Regions from separate parts of the Homo sapiens genome. Here region 1 is linked to region 2. Evidence: promoter capture Hi-C in 16 types of primary human blood cells and fetal thymus (Javierre and others, 2016). All regions are on one chromosome and are shown on one strand. Each heading gives the region's core, a stretch centred on a gene start or on the middle of the fragment in contact. The rest is flanking DNA. Distances are from core to core; before and after follow the strand shown. Region 1 overlaps PCDHA1 (protocadherin alpha 1). Region 2 holds the start of PCDHGB1 (protocadherin gamma subfamily B, 1).

Evidence for each region. Contacts are between HindIII fragments. The CHiCAGO score rates a contact against its expected background, and 5 or more counts as called.
Region 1: a fragment that was not itself captured here is called in contact with the fragment with the promoter of PCDHGB1 in region 2 in 1 of 17 cell types (M1 macrophages); the score reaches 5.4 in M1 macrophages.

The regions. Positions count from the first base shown.
Region 1 is chr5:140,883,901-140,889,922 of GRCh38, forward strand. The region is part of intron 1 of PCDHA1 (protocadherin alpha 1); the gene reads left to right. All of the region lies in intron 1 of PCDHA2 (protocadherin alpha 2), which reads left to right. All of the region lies in intron 1 of PCDHA3 (protocadherin alpha 3), which reads left to right. The region is part of intron 1 of PCDHA4 (protocadherin alpha 4); the gene reads left to right. It also overlaps PCDHA5, PCDHA6, PCDHA7, PCDHA8, PCDHA9 and PCDHA10, and 4 more genes. Among named protein-coding and RNA genes, the nearest start is that of PCDHA13, 4.8 kb to the left of the region's middle. RefSeq lists an enhancer at 1-443. The HindIII fragment of the contact is 5,330 bases long and covers 766-6,022 here.
Region 2 is chr5:141,348,680-141,355,181 of GRCh38, forward strand. It overlaps PCDHGB1 (protocadherin gamma subfamily B, 1), which reads left to right and starts at 1,420. Exons shown (of 4, transcript NM_018922.3): 1 at 1,420-3,990. The coding sequence starts at 1,582. All of the region lies in intron 1 of PCDHGA1 (protocadherin gamma subfamily A, 1), which reads left to right. The region is part of intron 1 of PCDHGA2 (protocadherin gamma subfamily A, 2); the gene reads left to right. The region is part of intron 1 of PCDHGA3 (protocadherin gamma subfamily A, 3); the gene reads left to right. It also overlaps PCDHGA4 and PCDHG@. The HindIII fragment of the contact is 7,439 bases long and covers 1-5,275 here.

The sequences.
Region 1 (6,022 bases), core at 2,181-4,680, 460 kb before region 2:
CTGGGCAGCAACGTGACGCTGCAGGTGTTCGTGCTGGACGAGAACGACAACGCTCCGGCGCTGCTGACGCCCGGGGCTGGCAGCGCGGGAGGCACAGTGAGCGAGCTGATGCCGCGGTCGGTGGGTGCAGGCCACGTGGTGGCGAAGGTGCGCGCGGTGGACGCCGATTCGGGCTACAATGCGTGGCTTTCGTATGAATTGCAGCTGGCGGCGGTCGGCGCGCGCATCCCGTTCCGCGTGGGGCTGTACACTGGCGAGATCAGCACGACGCGCCCTCTGGACGAGGTGGACGCGCCGCACCACCGCCTTCTGGTGCTGGTGAAGGACCACGGTGAGCCCGCGCTGACGGCCACGGCAACGGTGCTGTTGTCGCTGGTGGAGAGCGGCCAAGCGCCACAGGCTTCGTCGAGGGCGTCGGCAGGCGCTGTGGGTCCAGAAGCGGCGCTGGTGGATGTCAATGTTTACTTGATCATTGCCATCTGCGCGGTGTCCAGCCTGTTGGTGCTCACGTTGCTGCTGTATACTGCGCTGCGGTGCTCGGCACCGCCCACCGAGGGCGCGTGCGCGCCGGGCAAGCCCACTCTAGTGTGCTCCAGCGCGGCAGGGAGTTGGTCGTACTCGCAGCAGAGGCGGCCGAGGGTGTGCTCTGGGGAGGGCCCGCATAAGACGGACCTCATGGCCTTCAGTCCCAGCCTTCCTCCTTGTCTGGGTTCTGCAGAGGGAACAGGCCAGAGGGAGGAGGACTCAGAATGCTTGAAAGAGGTAAGCTTATATTTTAAAAAATTGTCTTAGTAAACACTTTAGCCTTCCTTGCAGTTGTTTGTTTAAGACATCTTTCCTGCCAATTTCAAATTATTCTTTACTTTAATTTTAATTTTGCTAGTTGTTATCGAATTTAACAACTCTGCTGTGGACATTATGTGTTGGATTATCCTTCAGAGTGAAATCTTAACTCACAAACCATAATGAAATGTGCAAAACAAGAATATTTTGTTTCTGTTGTATTCTTAATAGTTCTAAGTATTTATCTTGCAATTGAGCATTTACAAAAAATTCCTCACGTTGTGAGAACTTAAACATTTAGAAAATGTTTGTTTTAATGAGGCTAATCGTAATCTTAAATTTAAAAAATTTTTAGTTTAATGTATACATATACCCACAAGATATTATTTTAAAGAGCCCCATAACTTTTCACATAAATGCTTTTTTTAAGTGCACTTTTCTTTCTTTCTTTTTTTAAACTGTTTTGATTGTCTCTACTTTTTTGTCCTCTAGGCACATCAGTGTTCCCCTCTCATATATCCCATGAAAAATATCTTGTGATTCTGCTTTCAATTTTTTATTTGCATTCAGATAATTACTCATACATATATATATACATATATAGAGAGAGACCTGGTAGGCTTTTTGTTATTATTTCTTTTCCAAAGTTTGAAGGGATTTCCAAAAGGTACTGGTGACTGAAAGTACCTTTTGGCAGTCCCTGCAAATCTAATGGTTTTAATAGCTGTGTAGTATTCCACAGTGTAAGTGTGCAATTATATATTATTTACCTAATGATGGGCAATCACTTTGTGTCAAGTGTTCTGTTATCTTCATGAACCATGCTGTGCTATCATTTCATATATTTCCCAAAATATTGGTGTTATTTCTACGAAATTGATTGTCAGATGTGGAATTGATGCATCAAAGATATTAATAATTTTAATTATAAAATATGTCACTGGATTGCCTTCCAAGTATTTTGGAACCAACCAGTTATGAGCACTCTTTCTATCTCAAGAAGCAATAGTGGTTTTACTTTCTGCTAATGTGATCTCTGTGAAATGATATTTCACTGTTACTTTAATTTTAAATTCCTGTATAGTATTAGTGAATTTGAGCATATTGTCATATGTATTTTGTTGATTTGTATTTGATCTTCTTTGATTTATCCATTAAGTTATTTGCCTACTTTTCTATTGAAAAAAAATTTTTAGTTTCAGTTTGGAAAAGTTCTCTGTACCTTATAGATATTAACTGTTTATCTATTTTTTGACATTTTTAATTAAAATTTTTATTTTGAGATAATTATAGATTCGCATGTGGTTGAAAGAAATAGTAAAGGGAGATGCTATGTATTCTTCACTAAGTTTTCCCCAATAGTAACATCTTACAAAAGCGTAGGGCCATACCACAACCTGGATATTGACATTGATACAGTAAAGAAGTAACATAGTTCCGTAACAACCAGATTCTTGATATCACCTTTTTATAGCCACATCTGCTTCCCTGCCTAATGCTGGCAAGCAGTAATCTGTTCTCCATTTCTCTAATTTTGTTACTTTTACTTCAGAAATAAATAAAAGTATCTCTATTTATAGATAAAATTTTTTAAAATTATTTTTATATTTATTTATTTTTTATTACACTTTAAGTTCTGGGATACATGTGCAGAACGTGCAGGTTTGTTACATAGGTGTACATGCCATGGTGTGCTTATCTATTATCTGCATCACAAATATGTTTTCCTCCTATATTATTTCTATTCATTTGTTTGTACTAATTTTGTCATATATAAATGTTTTTAAAATGTATGAATTAAAATATATCTTTTTCCTTTTATGGATTTTAAGGTCTGCATATTCAGTTAGAAAGGTCTTCCCAGCTGGGCACGGTGGCTCACGCCTGTAATCCCAGCACTTTGGGAGGCCAAGGTGGGCGGATCAGGAGATCAGGAGTCCGAGACCAGCCTGGCCAACATGGTGAAACCCTGTCTCTACTAAAAATACAAAAATTAGCGAGGCATGGTGGCACGCGCCTGTAATCCCAGCTACTTGGGAGGCTGAAGCAAGAGAATTGCTTGAACCCGGGAGGTGGAGGTTGCAGTGAGATGAGATCATGCTACTGTACTCCAGCTCTGGGTGACAGAGCAAGACTTCGTCTTGAAAAAAAAAAAAAAAAAAAAGAAAGGTCTTCCCAACTCCTATATTGAACATTCATTAATTAAATGCATTTAATAAATACTTATTGAGTGTTCTCTATGTGCCAGGCATGTTCTACACATTAGACATTTAGCAACGAAATTTATTATTTTGTAAATCCAAATTTCCAGTTGGTATCACTTTCCTACTGCCTGAAAAATTTCTTTAATATTTTTTATAGTGCATATGTTCTGGCAACAAATTCACTCAGCTTTTGTCTGAGAAATATCTTTATCTCTTTTTTTTTTTTTGAGACGGAGTCTCACTCTGTCGCCCAGGCTGGAGTACAGTGGCGTGATCTCGGCTCACTGCAAGCTCCACCTCCCGGGTTCACGCCATTCTCCTGCCTCAGCCTCCCGAGTAGCTGAGACTACCGGCGCCCGCCACCACGCCCTGCTAATTTTTTGTATTTTTAGTAGAGATGGGGTTTCATCTTGTTAGCCAGGATAGTCTCGAACTCCTGACCTCGTGATCCACCTGGCTCGGCCTCCCAAAGTGCTGGGATTACAGGTGTGAGCCACCGCGCCCGGCTCTTTATCTCATTTTTATTTTTGAAAAAGTATTTTCACTGGGCATAGTTGACAGTTTTTTAAAAGATATAATTCAGTTGTCTTCTGGCTTGCATAGTTTCTAATAAGATGTTTGCTTTTTTATATATGAGTCTTCCTCTCCCCACCCCTCATGGTTACTGTTAAAACTTTTCTTTTTATCCTGACTTTTGCAGATTGATTGTGATGTGCTTTAGTATGGTTTTCTTTATGTTAGTCTGTTGGGGTTTGTTGATATTCTTGGATCTGTGGATTTATCATTTTCATCAAATTCAGGAAAAAATCAACCATACTTCTTCTAATAGTTTTTTCTTTCCTTCCATCCTTTCTGAGACTCCAGTAACACATATGTTACAATGACACAGGTCATTGAAGCGTTCTTTATTTTTGTCCATTTCTTTCTCTGTGCCTCATTTTGAATATCTTTTATTGACATATTTTCCAAGTTCACTAATTTTTCCTTTTGTAGTATCATATCTGTTAATCCTAAACAGTGTATTCTTCATTTCAGAGACCATATTTATTTCTTATCTGTATAAGATTCTTTTTGTCTCTTTTAAAATTTATTTTACATGTCTCCACCGAATAGTCATCTTTTTATCTATATGTTTGAGCATATTAGTACATGTATAATAGATGTTTTAACTTTCTTGTCTGCTAATTTCAACATTTTTGTCCTTAGTTTGCTTCTTTTAATCTATCTTCTTCTATGGATATATTTTCTTGCTGTTTTGCATGACTGGTAATCTCTAATAAGATGCTAGACATTGTGAATTTTACATTGTCGGATGCTGGATTTTGTGTGTGTGTGCATGTGTGTGCGTGTTCCTTTAAAGCAGTAGTTCTTGATAAGAAACAGTTTTGTCCCCTCTACCCCCTACCCAGGAGATAATTTGGCAATGCCTGGATACATTTTTGGTTATTACAACTAGGGAATTGCTACTGGCATCTAATAATGGAGCTCTGAGATGCTGCTAAACACCATCCAATTGCTGCCAAACATCCTACCGTGCACAGGACAGCCGCCCAACAATAAAGAATTAGCTCAAAATGTCAGTAGTTCCACTGTTGAGAAACTCTGCTTTAAAGAGTCTTGGACTTAGTTCTGACGTGAAGTTAAGTTGCTCAGTACCAATTTATTCCTTTCAAGGCTTCATTTTAAGATTTGTTAGTACACATTCAGAGCAGCTTTTAGTGTAGCACTAATTCGGCCTTCTATTACAGCAATACTTTCCTGAGGACACCACCTAATGCCCTGTGCATTAAGAGGTCTCTCTTCTCTGATTGGTAGGAATGTGAAATATTTCCAGCCCTTTGTGAGCTCTAGGAATTATTCTACCCACTTTTTTTTTTAATTTTGAAGGGATAGCCTGATCTGGGGAGGTTGATCAGTGATCTGTGATCTGTGATCACATCACTCCACTGCAGCCTGGTGACAGAGTGAGACCATGTCTCAACATAAAAATTAAAACATTAGAATTGAGGTTTAATGTTATCAAATATTTTATCTGCATCTTTTGAGGGAGGTATAAATTTTTTCTTTGGCAATGTTAATGTGTTGAATTTATGATTTATGATTTTCTTATGGCAAACCAACCTCTACTTCCTTGGATAACCGTAATTTGATTATAATTTATAATCCTTTTAATATACTACTTATTTTGTTAAATTTTCAAAACAATTTTTTCATCTTTATTCCAGGTGATACTGATATGTCCTAGTTTTTCTTCCTAATTTCTTCTTTGTTAAGTATTCAAGTTATAAATAAGAATCTAGCATAACTTGAATACTTAACAAAGAAGAATAGTCTTTGAAAACTTCCAGAAAATTTTCTGTTTCCTGTAAAAGTTTGTATAATCTTTGAATTACTTCTTATTTGATTGGAGAACTCACTGTTGAAGTTATCTGTATCAGGATTTTGATTGGTGGGAATATTTCTGATTACTGACTCAATTTTAATAGTATAAGGACCATTCAGAGTTTAATTTACTCGAGTCAGTTACGTAGATAATATTTTTTCAGGTATTTTCCTGTTTAATCTAAATTTTCAGTTATATGCTCATACTTTCTACAGAATCTATAGTGATATTTCCCTTTCCATTCTTGATATTATTTTTGCTTCCTGTCTAATTTACTTTTCTTCAGAATTCTGCTTTCTGATTTTTGTTTTTGCTTTGAAATATTTTTATATTAATTATACTGATTCATTTCTCTTCTTTTCATTTGTGTTTGCAGGAGATGTCCTCTTCCCAGCCTTTTATTTTAAACCTTTTAGTATTATGGGCATATTCCACAAGTTCTTTGCTACTGTCTCACTGAGTAGCAGAGTCTAATTTTTCTTTCCTTGAACTTTGACTGGTCTTAATATTGGAAGTAACATTCTGGGATTTATGAAGTCAGGTCATAAGAAGTCTTACAGTATGCTTTGGTCTCTGAGAATATTTGTTTTGGGGGAAGCCTGCCACCATGTAAGAATTCTGACTACCTTGAGATTGTCATACTGTAAAGAAG
Region 2 (6,502 bases), core at 170-2,669:
TATTTTTTTGAAGAATGGGCAAGAATCCACTACAACAGAAAGGGAGGAGAAGTTCATAGTAAAAGGAATGGAAAGTATAAAGGCATGATGCAAGGAAACAAGTGAAAAGGTATCTTAAGAAAACAGATAATAGGCTGTTTCGAATAGAGTATGAGTATGGGTGAGCACTGCAAAATAGTAGAATAAATTGTTGAGTTGGATCTCATTTGGTAATGCATTTGAAATAAAGGGATTTGCTTTGAACCAAGACTGGTTCTAAGCCTGGAACTACAGAATAAGTTCCAAAATTGGGTGTCTAAGAACTCTGAATACCTCTCCAATATTTACCAGTGGTCAAGTCAAACTCGTTTTGCTCATTAATGGTATAAGTCGGCTGGAGCTGAGAATTGGCATTATAGAGAATGTTTTTGAGACAGAGTCTTGCTCTGTCACCCAGGATGGACTTCAGTGGCATGATCTCAACTCACTGCAACCTCTGCCTCCTGAGTTAAGTGATTCTGCTGCCTCAACCTCCCGAGTAGCTGGCGTTACAGGTACCCGCCACCATGCCTGGATAATTTTTATTTTTTTTAGTAGAGATGGCTTGCACCATGTTGGACAGGCTAGTCTCAAACTCCTGACCTCATGTGTTCTTCCCACCTTGGCCTCCCAAAGTGCTGGGATCACAGGTCACTGCACCCAGCCTAGAGTATTTAATATACATTCATATAAAAAAGAAGCACTGGTTTCATAAAACAAATGTACATTATATGAGATTCCACTTCATAAAAGCATGTATGTGTACCCCAACACTAAATTGGCCCTTTTAACAAAATATCAGACTTTGTCCTACTTAACTGGAAAGATTATCTATATTTTATAAAGAAGAGAAATAACATAATAGTAAGGCTGTGATTTCCTCTTTTTTGCAAAAACTATTTTTGAAAAGTATTACTGAATTGATAACATATATATGGAGAGATTTAAAATACTAGATAAGGGAGCTTATTCCAATGAATTTACAGAAAGGTAGGTATTTTAGTCAACTAAAAATATAAATAAAAATTATCAATTCACTTATTTGGATACAGCAGTCATGCCAGAGTTTATAAATATAGTGAAATCACTGAAGATTTTTTTTTACCCCCAAAACTGAAAAAAATGGCAGTGTACCTTGTGAATTTTTTAAATGAAAAAAGAATACGAAATGATGAAGGCCCTTATCTGATGATGACAAACTAGAAAACTGAAATGTAAAGGGGAAAATGTGAGTATGTGTTTCCCTCCAGCAAATTAAAGACAGGGTACATAGATTCAAGAGGTTGCGCTTTGAGGATAAAAAGCTGGGCCCTGTGCAGTTTTCCAAGACAACCTCTGGGCGCCGCTGTCGACCAAAAGGAAGTGAAGGCTTCTCAATTCTGCAGGAGCGTCAGGCAGGGTGCCTTCCTGCTTTGTCCGGTGCACTGAGCACAGACGCTGCTCCTGTTCACCCTCGAGCGCCTAACTAATAAGTCCTAAGCTCAAATCACAGAAGTCCAGGGTGCTGCCATTTCTTTTTGAAAAACATCCCAGAGGAAAGAAGCTCCGCGGAGAGTTCCTGAAATGCAGAGAGCCAGAGAAGCCGAAATGATGAAAAGTCAGGTACTGTTTCCCTTCCTGCTGTCTTTGTTCTGCGGGGCCATCTCCCAGCAGATCCGATACACGATTCCAGAGGAGCTAGCCAACGGCTCACGGGTGGGGAAACTTGCCAAGGATCTGGGGCTCAGTGTCCGGGAGTTGCCAACTCGAAAACTGCGGGTTAGTGCAGAGGATTATTTCAACGTTAGTTTGGAGAGCGGGGATTTGTTAGTGAACGGTAGGATAGATCGAGAGAAGATTTGCGGAAGGAAACTTGAGTGTGCACTAGAATTCGAAACGGTCGCTGAAAACCCAATGAATGTTTTCCACGTGGTTGTTGTAATCCAAGATATTAATGACAATGCACCACGTTTCGTTGCAAAAGGCATTGACTTAGAAATTTGTGAGTCAGCCTTACCCGGGGTAAAATTCTCTCTGGATTCTGCTCAAGATGCAGATGTGGAAGGCAATTCACTGAAGTTATACACCATCAACCCCAATCAATACTTCTCTCTGTCAACGAAGGAAAGTCCTGATGGAAGTAAATATCCGGTATTACTGCTGGAAAAACCTCTAGACAGGGAACATCAGAGCTCTCATCGCTTAATCCTGACTGCCATGGATGGCGGGGACCCGCCTCTAAGCGGCACCACCCATATCTGGATCCGAGTTACGGATGCCAATGATAATGCTCCCGTGTTTAGCCAGGAGGTATACAGGGTTAGCCTCCAAGAAAACGTACCGTGGGGAACCTCCGTGCTGCGGGTGATGGCCACAGACCAGGATGAGGGCATTAATGCAGAGATCACCTATGCCTTCCTCAATTCCCCAATAAGTACCAGCCTCTTCAATCTCAATCCAAATACTGGCGACATCACAACCAATGGCACATTGGATTTTGAAGAGACAAGTAGATATGTGTTGAGTGTGGAAGCTAAGGATGGAGGAGTACACACAGCTCACTGTAATGTTCAAATAGAAATTGTTGACGAGAATGACAATGCCCCAGAGGTGACATTCATGTCCTTCTCTAACCAGATTCCAGAGGATTCAGACCTTGGAACTGTAATAGCCCTCATAAAAGTGCGAGACAAGGATTCTGGGCAAAATGGCATGGTGACATGCTATACTCAGGAAGAAGTTCCTTTCAAATTAGAATCCACCTCGAAGAATTATTACAAGCTGGTGATTGCTGGAGCCCTAAACCGGGAGCAGACAGCAGACTACAACGTCACAATCATAGCCACCGACAAGGGCAAACCAGCCCTTTCCTCCAGGACAAGCATCACCCTGCACATCTCCGACATCAACGACAATGCACCTGTTTTCCATCAGGCCTCCTATGTGGTCCACGTGTCTGAGAACAACCCACCTGGCGCCTCCATTGCACAAGTAAGCGCCTCCGACCCGGATTTGGGACCCAACGGCAGAGTCTCCTACTCTATTCTGGCCAGTGACCTGGAGCCGCGGGAGCTGTTGTCCTACGTGTCCGTGAGCCCGCAGAGCGGGGTGGTGTTCGCGCAGCGCGCCTTCGACCACGAGCAGCTGCGCGCCTTCGAGCTCACACTGCAGGCCAGGGACCAGGGCTCCCCCGCGCTCAGCGCCAACGTGAGCCTGCGCGTGTTGGTGGGCGACCTCAATGACAATGCGCCACGGGTGCTGTACCCCGCGCTGGGGCCTGATGGCTCCGCCCTCTTCGATATGGTGCCACGCGCCGCAGAGCCCGGCTACCTGGTGACCAAGGTGGTGGCGGTGGACGCAGACTCAGGACACAACGCTTGGCTGTCCTACCACGTGCTGCAGGCCAGCGAGCCCGGGCTCTTCAGCCTGGGGTTGCGCACGGGTGAGGTGCGCACAGCGCGTGCCTTGGGCGACAGGGACGCGGCCCGCCAGCGCCTGCTGGTCGCTGTGCGTGATGGAGGACAGCCGCCACTCTCCGCCACCGCCACGCTGCACCTAATCTTCGCGGATAGCCTGCAAGAGGTATTGCCAGACCTCAGCGACCGCCCTGAGCCCTCTGACCCCCAGACGGAACTGCAGTTTTACCTGGTTGTGGCCTTGGCCTTGATCTCAGTGCTCTTTCTCCTCGCGGTGATTCTAGCGATCGCCCTGCGCCTGCGACGTTCCTCCAGCCTCGACACTGAGGGCTGCTTTCAAACCGGTCTCTGCTCCAAGTCTGGGCCCGGGGTTCCTCCCAACCACAGCGAGGGGACTTTGCCCTATTCCTACAATCTATGTATTGCCTCTCATTCTGCAAAGACAGAGTTTAATTCTCTCAACCTGACACCGGAAATGGCTCCCCCTCAGGATCTGCTGTGTGATGATCCTTCTATGGTTGTATGTGCCAGTAATGAAGATCACAAAATCGCTTATGACCCTTCTTTGTCTTCGCACGTGAGTTTCTGCAAATCTAGTTAAATTTTATATATGGCGGCCGGGCGCGGTGGCTCAAGCCTGTAATCCCAGCACTTAACCAGGCTGAGGCAGGTGGATCACTTGAGGTCAGGAGTTTGAGACCAGCATAGCCAAGATGGTAAAACCCGGTCTACTAAAATTACAAAAATTAGTTGGGTGTGGTGGCACGCGCCTGTAGTCCCAGTTACTCAGGAAGCTGAGACAGGAGGATCGCTTGAGCCCGGGAGGTGGAGATTGTAGTGAGCCAAGAGTGTGCCACTGCACTCCAGCCTGGGTGATGGGAGGGAAACTGTCTAAAAAAACAAACAAACAAAAATTATATATTGCATTTTCTTCTCATTGGTGTATAAGTAATTTTGATTTTCTTTCATTGTTCTAGTGATGGTATCTACTGCGGGAGGGGGTACTAGATAGATGGAGATTGCTTTCTTGATTGCTCAGTAGTCTTGGCAATTTAATTTTCAATCTTTACTGTTGGCATTTCTGTATGGTTGGCAAATCTTGCTAAAGAGACCTGTTTCCTAGATGTTAACACTTAGTAATAGCAGTGCCTTTTCTTAGTTGATATGCAATACTATATTTTCAAGTCATTTTATTCTTAGCTCTTTATAAATGTATTTAGAGTTCTTCCCACCCAAGTTAAAGTTCATCAATTACATTAATTATGTAATTGATGTAATTATGTATTAATGTAATTATGTAATTAATGTAATCTTCATCAATTACATTCTAGTTTGTCTTTTTGCAGCAACATGTATGTTTAATACAGCCTTCCAATTATTAAGACTCTTAACACTTTGTCTCATCACAAGTAGCAAATATTGTCCAATTTTATATTTGCATCACTAACTTTGAGTCAATATTATTCCCACTCTATAATTTCAGTCAATGATATTTCATAATTTTCTTAACCATTCCTAAATTATTTGTTTTTATGCTCTTTCTATTTTGTCTCTATTAAAACAAAGAATGTAATGAACATTTGGGTTTATAAAGCGTTTTCCATACTTCTTGTTTCTTTAGTGTAGATTTCTGAGGAATTAGTTAAATCTATAAACATGTTGAGATTTTTTTAATGCATACTGTCAAATTTATTTCCAAACATCTTATTTCACCTCTCAATCATCCGCAGTTTGTGCGGTCTTTGAGGATTGTGAAAAACACGTTTAATCTACTCTCTCAAAGTCTGAGGGTTTTTAAATTCTGTATAGCTAATGCCCTTTTGTATGAGTCATTTCTACTGCTAATTGTTAAGTGAGGAATAAGCTTAAGAACTGATGTACTGCTTTATCTCAAATTTTCACAGATTAGTAAATTACTGTAAGTATTCATAAGAAAGAAAGCGATGGCACATGCAATGATAATCCATGTTCGGCTACCAAAACATTTCCTTTTACTGGCTATTTCTAAAATGAGAGCTAAAGTAAAGTTAGAAATTGTAAAATAATACTGAATGTGTCATGTGAAAAAATCACTAAACTATTATCTGCACTTTATAGTTATTCAGTCTAACTTTTCTTTTTATTTCTTTTTTATTTTTAAGATCAGAGTTATTTACCCATTGTTTTAGGCTTTGCATTTGAACTGGTCATTCATGAAACATTGAAAGGTTTCATAAAAATTACTACTCTATGAAAGGTATTGTTCTAAAGATTGAGAACACATTGTGAACAAGATAGTCATATGCATAGCTTGTGGCCAAGAATCTACTGTACACAAAATTAAGGAGCAAATTCTCTTCCCAAACCTATTATCCTATTTGTCAATCTCATTTGTACAGGGTAAGGCTAACTCTTGAACAGTAGGTGAGTTTTTTGCAAGGGAATTGAAGCATTGCCCCAGGTTCTAGAGGGTCAACTCCTGTGAGGAAACTTGTTACTGCATAAATTGGGACTAAAGCCAGACCTCCAAGTTCCTGTCCCACTGTCTTTTCACTTATCTGTCTCATCCATTTTTCAAGTCCACCTTTGTCTTTAGGAGAGATAATTATGTCCCTCACACAATACGCTATACTGAGAATGGGCTGTGGGGATGAACAATGTGAAAACTGAAAAGAGGAAGAACACATCTTAGGAAAAAAATCGTCATATTTTCTCTAAGAAAATAAATAACTTCATAAAGTTTATTGTACAGGAAGACTTGGATCATTCTTGAATTTTCATTGCAAATCAAAAACAGGAATTTGACTTTATTATCTTGGGAGAAATAGGAATAGAAAAGTGTATAAAAAATAAACTTTTTTTAACCAAGAATAAATTGCAGTAACAGGTTAAGACTCTGGGTGTCGCTGTTCACCAATCAGGGGGAAAAGACAAACCAGAAATTTAATCAGAATCACAAGATTTCTGCAGCACAAAGCACTGGCTCTGGAGCTTTATGAAAGCTTCAAGCGGAAGCCCTGAGAGCTCTGGCTGTGAATGCACTTTATTTTGGACCCAGAAGATCCTGGGGCTCCTCAGGCCTCGACAGAGGGAAAACCGAAGCACAGGCG